2 separate regions of the Homo sapiens genome follow, and region 1 is linked to region 2. The links are contacts of gene promoters, found by promoter capture Hi-C in blood cells and fetal thymus (Javierre and others, 2016). All regions are on one chromosome and are shown on one strand. Each heading gives the region's core, a stretch centred on a gene start or on the middle of the fragment in contact. The rest is flanking DNA. Distances are from core to core; before and after follow the strand shown. Region 1 overlaps HADH (hydroxyacyl-CoA dehydrogenase). Region 2 holds the start of SGMS2 (sphingomyelin synthase 2).

Region 1 (7,007 bases), core at 2,153-4,652, 170 kb after region 2:
TAACTTGTTTCATGTGTTTGCTTATTACACACTTCTGACTTGGTTTTGATTGCTAATTTATCTTCACTGGATACTTAGGCCAATAAAGAAGCTTATAGGATTAAATGAGCCTTGAGTGGGGGACAGGTTGTTTTTTTGCTTTATAAAGAGGAAAACAAGAAAGGAAGAAAGCTGGTAGCTGTGTGCATTTCTCCAGTATTGAATCCTTTCTAGGCTTTGCTTCATACATTGGGTTTTTTCATATGAGGAGCCCAGAGAGAATGCATAGCTTTCATTAGATTACTTGTGAGGAGCCAGTGGGCTCCCTGGGAACGGGGCACTTCAGATGTCCCCCTTGAGACACTTTACATGCTCTCCGGGTGCAACCTTCTTTTTAGTGCACTACTCTTCTTTGAGGAAGTGAGAAAGTTTGCATCTTAAAGGGGGTTGGGGATAGGTTCTTCTCTCCCAAAGCTTGCTTTTTTTTTTTCCTCCTTTTTAAAAAGCAGAAAGTGCATATTTTTTCTAGAGAGAGCTTCTTTGGCTATTAAAAACAAAGTAAGGGCAGGGAGAGCCTGCTACGTTGCAGGGATTTTGTGTGACTCTACCATGCTTGATAAGGATTCAGGTAGACCTGAAAGCTTCTCCCCAGCCACTGGATTTGTTCTCTCATCTCTTCTTCTTGCCCCCAAATCTGCATTTTCTGATGCTGAAAAAGAGAATGATCAGAGTTGTTTCATATTTTTTTAGCTTTATTCTCTTCTACTGTGAGTACAGCTCTGTTGAGCTGTACAGTACAGTACTGCTTTGCTTGCAAAGCAGTACAGATGCCTAGGAGAAGTTTCAGGATCACAGGAGACCAGCAGTTACCTGGCTGTAAGCTCTCCTTTTGACTGTTCCTTATGGAGGGAATATTTGTACTCCCAGTTGTTACCTTCCTGCTGAAGGACATGAGATGTGTCTGTTTGTTATGAAGTTTTCCCCCTACTTCCCGAGTTGTTGCTTATCTTTGTTGGGCTGTTCTCTGCTCTTGGTTGAGGTACTGGGATGTAGAACCACCCTCTATTAGCATATTAGTTATTGGACTCTGGGTGAGGTTGGAGATACTGTCATTCCTAGAGGGTAGAAGAGGTAGGGCTCACAGGCAACAGAAAATAATGCTATGGGATATGTTTGGACATTTTTTAGAGCAGAAATGGCACTTCAGTCAGTCAGGTTTTGGCATTTTCCTGCCATGTTCTGCCTCCAGCTTTAATCACTTGCCCCTTGCTTGAGTTTCTTCTTTCTTCCCCTCTCCCTTCTCTCTTATCTGTGGTAGGCACACACACCTCACTCTCTAGTTCTCCTGGGACCACAGGAAGATAATGTGGATGTTCTCTGTGGCTCCCCCTGTTATATTCATGATGTTATTATTTCTGGTAGTGGTATTCTAATCTCAAAAGTACAGGCTATGAGGTCCCTGCCAGGGTTTAGATGCTAGCCTTCCTATCCTGCCTTTAGGAACCTTGGGCAAATCACTTAACTCCTCTCTGCCTCTTTACTTACCTGGGAATAATGAGACTCACCTGACAGCTGTGAAAGTTAAATGAACTAATATACAAGCTCCTAGAATAGCATTAGTGTGTTTGATAGTAACTGTCTGATAAATATTAGCTGCTTTCACATAGACCCATCAGACCTGATCTAGTGAGGATTTCTCTTAGATTGTCTTCACTGTCGGAAGAGTTTTGATATAGGGAGTTCCAGCAATTCTAAAGATGTTAAGACTTATTTATGTGGGTTGTTGAGAAAGATAGTGTACCATTTACTGGTTTTTGTAGAGCTAAAACCACTCTACAAAATATGACACTTTATTCTGTTCAAAGAATTTTGATTTATTTAATTTCATGTGACCATTACAATAATCACCCCTGCAGAGATGGTTCCTGGGGTCAATGGTCAGAGGCAGAGCTGGGGTTAGAACTTGAGTTCTCTTCTGTTCTGCTGCCTGTAAATCCCCAAGCCTGAATTCAGTTCTGCCTGCACCTCTGGCAAGTGCTGTATTGTGGGGAGAAGTGTGGCATCCATGGCAGGGGATCCTCTGTGGCTCTCTGGAATCAGTACATCCCAGGTTGACGTCTCCTTGGCTCTGGACTCAAAGTTAGTCTACCTGCTGGTCGTCTACATCAGGGTGCTGTGCTGCCATCCTTCTGCCCATGGTAGACTCAAACTCACCTGCCAAGATCTAATTCATTATTTCCCCTCCAGCTTTTTCCAGAGAGCTTGCCCCTCCTGTTGCTGCAGTTGTTCTTCCAGCCACATGTACTCTGAAGATGGGATCACAATCAGTGTCTCCATACCAGAAAAGGCTCTGTAACTTTTTGGTCATGGGAGAGCTCTTTCCTCTGCCCTCTCCTTTGCAGTTCCTAGACCAGGTGTGTTAACCTGAATTGTCATGGGAGCCTCTTAATTGGTCCTTTCAGCAAAAACTAAAAGAAAAAACCCACTCATCATGGCAAACATTGTCATATTAGTCTTCCTGGAGAGGCATTTGGATTTATAACTCTCCTCTACCCGGAAAGTGTCCATCATAGCAACATCTTCCAGGGATTCTTAAATATAACGATGCTGTTGACATGTCTGGTTATCCCTTTACCTTTTCAGAATTTGTGGGAGGTGAGAAGTCTGGGAGAGGTTATCTGGGTTATTATGAAACCTACACACTTACTGAATTAAAAAAAAACTATGTAACACAATTCTAGTCTAAAAATGGGCGCACACTTTCTTTGCCTTTTAGAAATACTTTTTGAAATGTAAAATTCGAAGTCTAATAAAGGAGTCTGTCCAATTAATTTAACTGTTTGAAGAAAAAAACCAGTCCAGGCATGGTGGCTTACGCCTGTAATCCCATCACTTTGGGAGGCTGAGGCGAGCAGATCACTTGAAGTCAGGAGTTCGAGACTAGCCTGGCCAACAAAGTTAAACCCTGTCTCTACTAAAAATACAAAAATTAGCTGAGCATGGTGACACATGCCTGCAGTCCCAGCTATTCAGGAGACTGAGGTGGAAGAATTGCTTGAACCCAGGAGGCGGAGGATGCAGTGAGCCAAGATCACACCACTACACTGCAGCCTGGCCAACAGAGCAAGACTCCTTCTCAAAAAAAAAAAAAAAAAGAACAAACCAGCTGGTTGTGGTGGTGGTGGTTGACATCCTCAACAGAACAGCTTTTGCTAATTGTTGAAGTCAGGGAAGACAACTTGTGCTGATGGCAGAGTTCAAGACATTACACAACCAGAGACAATCATAAACCCAGAAATGCCAGCCCTGAGAGATGCAACTGATGTATGACTTTTTTCCTCTCTGGATCAAACCATGACAACCGTAAAAGGCAGGCCTTGCTGTTAAGGCGCTGCAGCCTCTGAAGCACAGTTGGCCTCAGGGAGCTCTGACTCAGTCTACTTATTCTGGGGATCTGAAGAAAGTCAGAAATCATGTGTGGTAGATAGTTTGCATAACTTTGGGATTTTCCAGAGAGAGGATGAAAACGGTGGCCCTCCTTGTAATGTCTAGGCACATGGGACATCCAGTGGAACTGTTGAGGGAGGAGATGGGAGGGAGACCAGTCACCAGACCAGTTGATGTAGGTCTCATAGACTCACCACTCAAGTTGTGCTTCGGAGAAAGCTGCTTCAAATCTTCTTGATACATTTACAAAGATAAATAAATCCAGTGTGCTTCTGCTTGGCATGTTTACTTGGTCCTGTGGTCAGAGTGCTCTGGGGCTTTGACAAATGTGCTAGTCACTTAGCCTATTTTTACAACTCTGAAGCAGCCGTGTCTAAAAATATTTCCTCTCTGGCTGAGCCTGCCTTCCACCAGGCCTAGAAAAGTCATGGAGCTGAGGACATAGCCTTCAAATATTTTTTTTTCCATTGCAGACTGCTTGTCCTCAAGGTCTTACCAGCATGTAGGTCACTGTAATATAAAACATGAGTTCTCAATGGATTGATTTAAATTGTGGTCACTCAAACTGCCAGGAAGAGTCCTCCTCATTTGTTGTAAAAATAACAGATGTCTATGAAAGGAGAAGAAGAAGGCCTTTCTTTTTTTGCAGTTCATTTCTCCACTGCCTTCTCCATCCCAGAAAGTTGGCGGTAACTTGGGTGTTACTGAATTACTCAGGAGAATGAATTGTACTTGTTTCTCTGTAGTTATTTTCTAAATAAGAGGTTACGTTATCAGGAGAGGCCATCAGCTACAGCAGTGGAAAGAGCCACCAGGTCTCATCTTGACTTTACCAACAAATGTCTTTATTCAGTCAACATTCCCTGAGGGCCAGCCACAGCCAGGCAGGGTCTAGGTTCTCAGTGTACAAAGATGAATGACATTTGGTCAGGAGCCTACAGTAGAGGAGTTCAGATTACTATAACACAGTTTGGTAGGTGCTGTGGTACACAGATGCAGGGATGTTACAGGGCATATGGGGGACATCTAGCTTAGGGCTGAGAGGATCTTGGGGAGTAGGCTTACTAACTGGAAATGATTGTTTTGTTTTGTTTTGAGACAGAGTCTCTCTCTATCACCCAGGCTAGAGTGCAGAGGCGTGATCTTGGCTCACTGCAGTGTCCACCTCCCAGGTTCAAGCAATTCTTCTGCCTCAGCCTCCTGAGGAGCTGGCATTGCAGGCGTGCACCACCATGCCTGGCTAATTTTTGTATTTTTAGTAGAGACAGGGTTTCACCATGTTGGTCAGGCTGGTCTCTAACTCCCGACCTCATGATCTGCCCGCCTTAGCCTCCCAAAGTCCTGGGATTGCAAGTGTGAGCTACCGCGCCCGGCTGATTTTTAGGCTTAGTTAATAGGTGAAGTTGGGGAGAAGGTGAGGCCAAGAGAAGGGCTGGAGTTGAGAGGCAGATGTAGGGAGCTACTGGCCTTGTGGTGGTGTTAAGACTGTCATGCATGAGGCAATAGTTGTGTTCTTTTTGTTTTTTTGTTTTTTTTTCTTAGTAATAGCCATCCTAATGGGTATGAGATCAGAGGTTTTTAACATTATACTGTGATGGACATTAGAGATTTCATGAATCTCCTTCATGGTTCCCGAAAGGTTGGTAAAGATTCCTTCTCTGACCTTTGTTGTACATATTGGTCTTCAATATGCATTCTTATGGAAAAAGGTGTTCATGGCTAAAACATTTGAGAGCCGCCACACTGAATGATCTCTGGGTTGTCTTCCTCCTCTCAAAATTGATGATCCTGATTATCTGTAGCTAATAAGCCTGAACAATAAATGCTTTCGCCAATCTCTTAAAGTAGTTGAGAAGCTAGGTGTGTTAGTTTCCCTTCTGTGATAGAGAAGAAACCTGTGTTGGAGAGCAGTGAGCTTATGTGTCTGTGGCCATCTCTGACCTGATTCACACATGTGCCCCTCACAGACAGGCACAGACACAGGGTTGGCATGCCTCTAGCCTTACAGCCTCTTGGATGAAAGGTATAAGACACATTCACATGTTGGAGTGAATTAAGCACACATCCATTTTGAAATCACAGGGCTGGATACCACTTAAAGAATATTGATCTTGCATTGGGCAACGCATAGCAACTGCCCTACATTTCCCCTTTTACCTAGCGTCACAACCACCAGTACTAGAAAGCAGTTAATCTGCTCACCAAAATAACAGAGAGAGACTTTAGTGGCATTTTTTCCACTTGGTAATTGACTAGACTCTGGCTATTAGCTCCTTTTTTTTCCTTACTATCCTTTTCAAACTAATAACGTGACTTCTCATAATTTTAAAGTAACTTGATGCTTACACAAAGTTTATCATAAAGGTTTCTAGCAACAAAACCAGTCATGACTTCTTGAGAACTTATTTCTAAAATAATTTACAAATTGAGACTTATGAAAAAATAGCTCTGTCATTCAAGTGTTCATTTCATGAGTATGAAATATCTCCCTTGTGCTAGACATCAGGCCAGGTAAAAAGTAAGATGTGATTGCTGCTCTTGAGAAACCTACTGTCTAGTGGAAGAAATACAGGTATGAACAACTAATTGTAATGAAGGCACAGACAGCCTACCTGTCATATCTGGGATTTGATCTGAAACAGATGAAAGTTATAATAGTTTACATACCTTACCTTAAAGTATGGTTTTTAAATACTTAAGATGTGATATGACATATAGTGTGTATATATATCTTATGCTAAGGAAAAAGGGACATTAAAAAAGCTTATGTTAAAAGATATATGTATACATTGTACTGCCTGTATGTTTGTGAAATTTGTATTTACTGGAAATTCTCATTGGCCTGTAGATAGGAGTGTTCCTAAGCACCCTATATTGGGATTTGTGGTAACAGCAGCTTGACAACCTGAAGTGGATGATGCAACAGCACTTTTGAAAGGTCTCTCCGTACTATCTTGATTTCATCATCTAAAGTTGGTGTTGGCAAAGAGAAGATAAGTGTTTAGGGTGTTGGATATCCCAGTTACCCTGATTTGATCATTACACATTTTAGGCAGGTATCAAAATGTCACATGTACCCCAAAAGTATGTACAGCTATTACATATCAGTTTTTTAAAGAAGAAAAGGTTGGTATGGTTAGCTTTTCTATTTCAAGTGTATCATTCATCTTTCACATCTGGGATTTCTCCTATGCTCTGGTTGGTTAATAACTTTTATTCTGAAATCGGTGAGATTCTTATGACATGAAATAGTCTATAACCAGTTAAGTTTTTATTTCTCTGTTCTGTTCACATCCTGGGGACTGGGCTGCCATTACATAACTGAGCAGCCATTGGTGGTTCACACCAGCGCCACACCCAGTTATTTTCTTTCAGTATTTGAATTCCTGCACAAAAGATCTGCTGTATCTGCAAATCACTAGAGGCACAAAAGAAGTGATTACCTCTACTAAGGGTTGGGAGAAGTTTCACTAAAGGAGAGATGGTGTCCATGTTAGATTATGAAGGGTAAGTTGAAGTCCATGAAGCAGCAATGAGGGAGCCGGACATGTATGGCAGAGGAAACCACATGAACAAGGGCA
Region 2 (7,319 bases), core at 2,045-4,544:
GGGGATATTTAAATGGTATAATAAAATGACCTAATTACTTATTTCACAATATTTAAACTGAGGCACAATAGTAACCACTAATTCAAAACTACCCATTCAACAGCCTTCCACACAGAGGCTTATGAGGGAACTACAGGGTTTATATCAGCCAACAGTGCAGGCAGAACTGCAAGCTTTGTTTGGAGCTTTTTGACTTTATCCATGTACACAGGCCAAAAAGCCCACAATATCAATTGAGATCTGTAGAAAATTGTATTTAGACTTATCCCATAATGTCCAAATATTTGGATCATGAAGTAGGGAGTAGGTGGGATATTCACGCAAACTTACTTATAGATGGCTATACATTTGAATCTAGTCATTCAGTGTTACCAATGGATAGGACACCCATGCTTCTGAATTAGCTCTGTGATTGTCTATAAAAACTGCTGATTTGAATTTTGACTGCATCCTAGCAAACCAATCCATTTGCTATTGCCTTCTGGGCAAAATGCCTGGGCTTTGTAAATTTGAAAATGAGCTCCTTATTGAAGGGGAAAAATAAACCCCAGGACAATAACTTTCGATTGGTGGTCTCCTCTGGGTTCTAACCTTTAAAAGTAGCTCTAAAAGAGTCCATTTTCCACAACAATGATGTTGAGCCCTTGGTTAATTTTAGGAGCATTTTCATTTGGGGGAAACTTCTGTATTGTGACAACATCTTTTTTTGGTTTTATATTTTAAAAATTTGGGGGGACCGGGCACAGTGGCTCATGTCTGTAAATCCCAGCACTTTGCGAGGCCGAGAAGGGTGGATCGCAAGGTCAAGAGTTCGAGAACAGCCTGACTAACATGTTGAGACCCTGTCTCTGCTAAAAATACAAAAATTAGCCAGGGTTGGTGGCACACACCTGTAATCCCAGCTACTCGGGAGGCTGAGGCAGGAGAATTGCTTGAACCCAGGAGGTGGAGGTTGCAGTGAGCTGAGATTAAGCCACTGCACTCCAGCCCAGGCGACAGAGCAAGACTCCATCTCAAAAAAATTTTTTTAAATTTAATTTTTGTAGGTACATAGTAGGTATATTTATGGGGTACACACAATATTTTGATATAGGCACATAATGCATAATAATCACATCAGAGTAAATGGGATATCTACCATCTCAAACATTTATCCTTTCTTTATGTTACAAACCAATTATATTCTTAGTTATTTTAAAATGCACAATTACTGTTGCCTGTAGTTGCCCTGTTTTGCTATCAAATACTATACCTTATTCATTCTATCTAACTATATATATATTTTTTACCCATTACCCATCCCCCCTACCCTTCCCAGCCTCTGGTAACCATCATTCTACTGTCTCCATGAGTTCAATTGTTTTAAATGTTAGCTCCCATGAATAAGTGAGAACATGTGAAATTTGTCTTTCTGTGCCTGGCTTATTTCACTTAACATAATGACCTCTAGTTCCATCTATGTTGTTGCAAATGCCAGGATCTCATTCTTTGTTATGGCTGAATAGTACTCCATGGGTATATGTAACGATTTATCCATTCATCTGTTGATGGACACTTAGGTTGCTTCCAAACCTTGGCTATTGTGAGTAGTGCTGCAATAAACATAGGAGTGCAGGTATCTCTTTGATACACTGATTTCCTTTTTTGGGCATATATACCTAGCAGTGAGATTGCTAGGTCATACGGTATCTCTATTTTTAGTTTTATGAGGAACTTCCATACTGTTCTCCATAGTGGTTATACTTTTTACATTCCCACAAACACAAGGGTTCCTTTTTTTTTCCACAACCTCGCCAGTATTTATTGCCTGAGCACCTTTTCATATACCTGTTTGCTATTTGTATGTCTTCTTTTGAGAAATGTCTATTCAAATCTTTTGCCCATTTATTACTCGGACTATTAGATTTTTTTTTCCTATAGAGTTGTTGGAGCTCCTCATATATTCTGGTTATTAATCCCTTGTCAGATGGATAGTTCCCATTCTGTGGGTTGTCTCTTCAGTTTGTTTCCTTTGCTGTGCAGAAGCTTTTTAGCTTAATATGATCCCATTTGTCCATTTTCTTTGGTTGCCTGTACTGTGACGACATCTTGAAGTTGCGAGTTTGGGGATTGCCTGCCTTGTATATTCTTTTCTGTTACCATCATCTTTAATAGCCACAAATGACTGTTGACCCACATGATATCTGCACTAGAAACCCAAAGATTCCCGTCATTATTTTTGTTGATTATATGGAAGCACCCATAAACCAGCGCAAATCCTAAACATAATTATCTTGTCCAGAAGGAGACATTAATGTAAAACTTATGTCAAGAAAGATTTAGCCACATTCCCTCGGATTGGTCATTCCTAGTTAGAGTCCTTGAGGCTGCCATCGTTTACTTTGAAAACTGCCCAGCAGGTGTATGAATAGCAACTCCAGGACAATGTAGAACCATTACCATTTTAAAGACAGCAATCCCCCTTTTAAAAAACTACTGAGGCCTTCGAAGAAACCACACGGCTGCCTTGGGCCCCAAAAGCTGCGGAAAAGCGCAGTATTCAGTTAAGCAAATAACTACTTACACTGTTTATTTTGGTTACGATTCCTTAAGTGAGAAGTAAATCAATTAACAGGACAAATGACACGATGGTTAGGCACGAAAGGGACAGTGCTGCCACCTCATTAGCTTGGAGCAACCTTCCAGCTCATACCATGCGGACTGATGACTAACCTTGCCAGGCAACGCTGTGAGGTTTGGAAACCCACCTCTTTGACCTAGGCCCGGTCAACACCGATAAACCCTCTGAATCAACGCTGGCGCTCCCAAGCCCACTCACACGCCGTCAGGAAGCAGTTTCCGAAACAGGCCGGGTGCGGGGGTGGGGGATCCCGTTCCAGCCCCACCCCTGAAAGTTGCTGGGAGTGGCACCCAAAGAACTTTCCCAGATTGATCTCTGTTGCCGCTCAGGGAGGTCAGCTCCAGGCCCTCAGCCTTTCGGCCGGGAGCCAAACTGCCCTGCCTGCCAAGCCCCTCCTTCTCTGCACCTTAAACAGCCGCGAGGGGAGAGTCGGCTGGGATTTTCTTCTTAAGAAGTCGCGCAGGTTTTTCGAGCTCCACTCTGCGCCAGGAGAGCCACGGCAGCAGGAACGGGCACTGCTGCCACCGGGCCGACGGGTGAGTCACTGTTTGGAAATGGAGTGGGCGGGCGAGGGTGTGAGAGAATGAATGATGTCAAGAGCGCGCTGGGCGCAGGGCGCAGGGAGCGGGCCGCGCGCGGCGGGCGGGGAGAGCGGGCGCGGGGCCGCGGTCAACACTGAGCGCCGCGCCGTGGGCCGAGTGGGGCGGGGAGACCCAGCCCTCGGCGCGCACGGAGCCTGGCCGGTGCTGCAGCGCCGCCGAGTGCGGCCTCGGGGGCGGCGGCCGCGGGAGGGACCCGGAGAGCTGCTTCCCCTAGTCAGGCCGCGGCGTGGGAGGGCGAGACCCCGAGCAAACTTTCTAGCGGCTTCGGCCCGAGGGTGGTGACGCCCGGGGCTGGTCGCGGCGGCTGCGGCAGCGGGCTCCATCCCCTGGCAAATCCCCTTCCCGGGAGCAAGTGCCTTCAGCTGGGAGTGTCTGGAGCCCTGGCCACCAGCGGGTAAGGAGCGCGCGGAGGGGCCAGGAGGAGGATGGGCTGGGGAGCGGAGAGTCCTCCGAAGCGCGGGAGGGGAAAGGTGGATTGCGAAGCGGGGACGTGGCTCTAATCCGGCCCCCACCCTCCCCGCCCAGGGCATGCTTCCTCGATTTTGTGGTCTGGAGGAGAGATGTGTGCCTTAGTCTCCTTCCTCTGAGCAGTCATCTCATTCATTTGCAACCCATTTCGGGTACCCCGGTCCTGGCGTTGGAAGGGCACAGGTTAAACCCCAGATTGTCCAGAACCACTCCGGAGGTCAGGGCTGAAGTTCAGTTGGTGGAGGAGGGACTGTGTGTGTGTGTTTGTGTGTGTGGTTTTTCTTTTCTTTCTCTTTTTTTTTTTTTTTTTTTTTGAGAGGCACTTACTGATGATGTGTGAACAGTAACAGCCCAGCTCTGGGCAGCCCACACCGAAACCCTTCAACGTGTGGCATTCCAGAGCTGCTCCCTTTACGGAAGGGAAGACTTGGTTTCTCAGCGAAAATAAGGGGCGGGGAACCCCTGTCAACATCCATCCAGAGGTATGGATAATCATTAATTATCCACGGCTTGAAACCAACTCAAAATGTTATGTCCTGTAGTCTTTTTTATTTATTAATGTTGCCGGTCCTCTATTTCAAGTCTTGCCTGCTCTGAAATGACCTTAAAATCATTTTGACATGTGTGTTATATTTTGAAGAGATTCAACTGTTTAGTGTCACTGGATTCGGCGTGGGTTTTCAATCTGTACCTAACTTTTCAAATCCTTGGTTTCATTACCAGTCTCCTCTATTAACGGTGGGTGCTCAGGCACATTAAACATTCTGAACCAGTAAAATGGGATTATAGCTACTTCAGATAATAAGGTGGATTAAATAAGGATTAATAATGAGGATAATAATGAGGATTAAAGCGCAAAAGACTTCTCATAATGTCTGGTACAAAGCAGACCCCAACAAATTATAGCTGTTTATATATAAATAATAGTGTGTTGCAGCTGGCTTAGGTAATAACCAATTAATTTCCACAGAATGTCCTCCTTATAAGCCTGGTGGGCCGAGGGTTAGCATGTGAAATCCTTTGGCAAGTTCCTTAGATTGGGAAGTGATGTTTTCAGCAAGTTAAACATTTTTAGTACGGATACCTGAGAAGGTTATGGTTTCCATCCTGTGTCATGGGAACTGCCATTTACTGTTTAAACAATGTCAGAGCAATGGCTGAAAGTGACAACCTGGAATTTACAGGAAGAAAGGACGTGAGGAAGCTAACTTTACCTTTACCTTTTTTTTTTCCTAAAGAAGCAGTGCAAGCAGTGCAAAATTTCCTCTTTATGGCCCTTTCCTTGGTCTTCTAATGTTCTTACTTCACAATAGTCTGGTTGAAGTGTTTTTTTTTTTAACAAGTTAATGTTTAATTTGGTTCCTTTGGTTTCATTTTTAAGTAAAGCTAGTTGACTTGTGAACCTAGAGGGAAACACTTGGACACCTTGAGGTGGCTGCACCTTGTTCTGAGTTTCTCCCCTCGCAGAATCTCATAAAAGCCCTAGGAAATGTTTGGAAGAAACTTTAGCACTTGTGCACGTTATTGAAGACATTTGCTCTTACCATAACTATAACAACTTACAGGGTGAAAGATCTGGGAGCTGTCCTACGACAGTACCGTGTAGTGAGATCATGGACATGGGAATCCAGGAGACCTGAGGCTCTCTGAGCTGTGTTCCTTTGAGCAAGTTTACTTAAACTCTTTGGGATTTTTGTGGGACTTTAAACAAAATATAGGGGAAAAATAGAAATAATCTTAGAACTATTAAAATAGACAATGGAGTATCAGTGAGAACTTTTTTTAAAAGTGATGCTTTGAGGTGAGATGTTTCTTTTTTAAAGGAATAATTACTGAGAGTTTTGGACAGTTTTAGACTAAACAATGACTTACCCACCTTTAGCGTGTTGTCTCAATGGAGAAATTGAAGGCTTTGTCTTGAACTACTAGTATCAGATATTTATTTGCTTAACGTTTAGTATGCAACAACTACATAACAGCCACTGTGCTAGGGGCCAGCAATGCAAACGAAGGAGATAGTTGCTACCCCAAAGCTTATAGTCCAGTAGAGACCTCAGGCTGTGATTATCAAGAGGGGAAAAAAGGAGTCAAAAAAGGAGAGTGCTGGGGACTTGGGAAGAGACAAGAAGTGATTAGGCCGTCATAGGCTGCCTCCCACTGATAATAAGAGATCTGGTGGCATTCTGAATGGTCTTGAATAGGGGCTCGTAAATTCTTTATGAGGCCGAATAATAAAAGTATGCCTTGCTTTACACAGTAAAATATTACGGACAAGTGATAGCTCTTCAGTTTAAATAATTTTAAATATTCAAAGCAAGCTTGTTTAAATGAAATCTGAAGGGTCAGCTCAGCTCAACTGAGATATATTTGCTGTGTGGCTGGGTGCAGTGGCTCACACCTGTAATTCCAGCACTTTGGGAGGCCGAGGCAGGCAGATCACTTGACGTCAGAAGTTCAAGAGCAGCCTGGCCAATATGGTAAAACTCCATCTCTACTAAAAATAGAAAAATTAGCCGGGCATGTTGGTGCTCGCCTGTAGTCCCAGATACTCGGGAGGCTGACGCAGGAGAATCGCTTGAACCTGGGAGGTGGAGGTTGCAGTGAGCTGAGATTGCGTCACTGCACTCCAGCCTGGGTGACAGAGCTAGACTCTGTCTCAAAACAAAACAAAACAAAACAAAAAAAGATTTATTTGCTGTGAACAAAACACTATGGTAGATTTTTAAGAGGATTATCCTTGTATGAGTATTCCAACTTATTAGTTTTCCCCATATTATAAGTAATGTGTTACTTATGGAAATTTATAAGTATAGGCAAAACAAATCAGCCATAATCTCACCACCCAGAAAATCATTTAACATTTCTATCTGCCCCCTCTTTATATTTTGCCCCTATGCACAGATAACACAAACAGCTAACGAGTATTGATCTTACTATGGGCCAGGCAACGTGACAGTTGCTTTATACATCAAATCTCTTGTAATCCCCACTCCAACCCGGTGAGGTAGGTACTCTTATTACCTTCTTTTACTGAGGATACAACTGTTTTAGGGAAATTAAGTAACTTTCCTGAAGTTGCAGCAGCTGAAATTTATCTCTACAAAAATGGGTTCATTCTCTATGTTCCAACTTACGTTTTCTCTCCTCATCCAAACATGGACAACTGTATGTCACTAACATACTCTTACACAGCATCATTTTTAGTTTTCTGTTTTGTGGCTGTGTCTCAACCAGTCCCCTATCGCTGAACACTTAGTTTGTTGCCAGTGTTCACTATTTTAAGCAGCTCTGCATTAAATCTTTCTAGCTATGTCTGTGTACACATTCTTGATTATTTCAGTTATTTTGCATTTTAAAAAGTGAAACATAATGTTTAATTTAGCTGCCCTTTTTTCTAAACTGTATTCAGAATTAGAGAACTTTTCCCTGTCTCTTTAATTTAAAATTTCAGAGTCTTAATTTCTGCGTTCCTTTAGCATATCTCATAAGATTTCAGCAATAGGATCAACCTTCTCTATGGAGTCGCACAGTGGAGCAGTAGCTCATTATGCAAGGAATTTATCTGTTGAAACGGGAACATACAAACTTTCTTAAAGTACTGTTTGTGTGTGTTATTTTTATTAGCCATG

Evidence for each region. The method cuts DNA at HindIII sites, captures the fragments that hold promoters and counts their contacts. A CHiCAGO score of 5 or more calls a contact.
Region 1: a fragment that was not itself captured here is called in contact with the fragment with the promoter of SGMS2 in region 2 in 1 of 17 cell types (M0 macrophages); the score reaches 5.9 in M0 macrophages.

What each region holds. Positions count from the first base shown.
Region 1 is chr4:107,993,777-108,000,783 of GRCh38, forward strand. The region is part of intron 1 of HADH (hydroxyacyl-CoA dehydrogenase); the gene reads left to right. Among named protein-coding and RNA genes, the nearest start is that of HADH, 7.4 kb to the left of the region's middle. The HindIII fragment of the contact is 5,569 bases long and covers 619-6,187 here.
Region 2 is chr4:107,821,638-107,828,956 of GRCh38, forward strand. SGMS2 (sphingomyelin synthase 2) reads left to right here and starts at 3,295. Exons shown (of 7, transcript NM_001375905.1): 1 at 3,295-3,616. RefSeq lists an enhancer at 5,513-6,712. The HindIII fragment of the contact is 3,698 bases long and covers 2,024-5,721 here.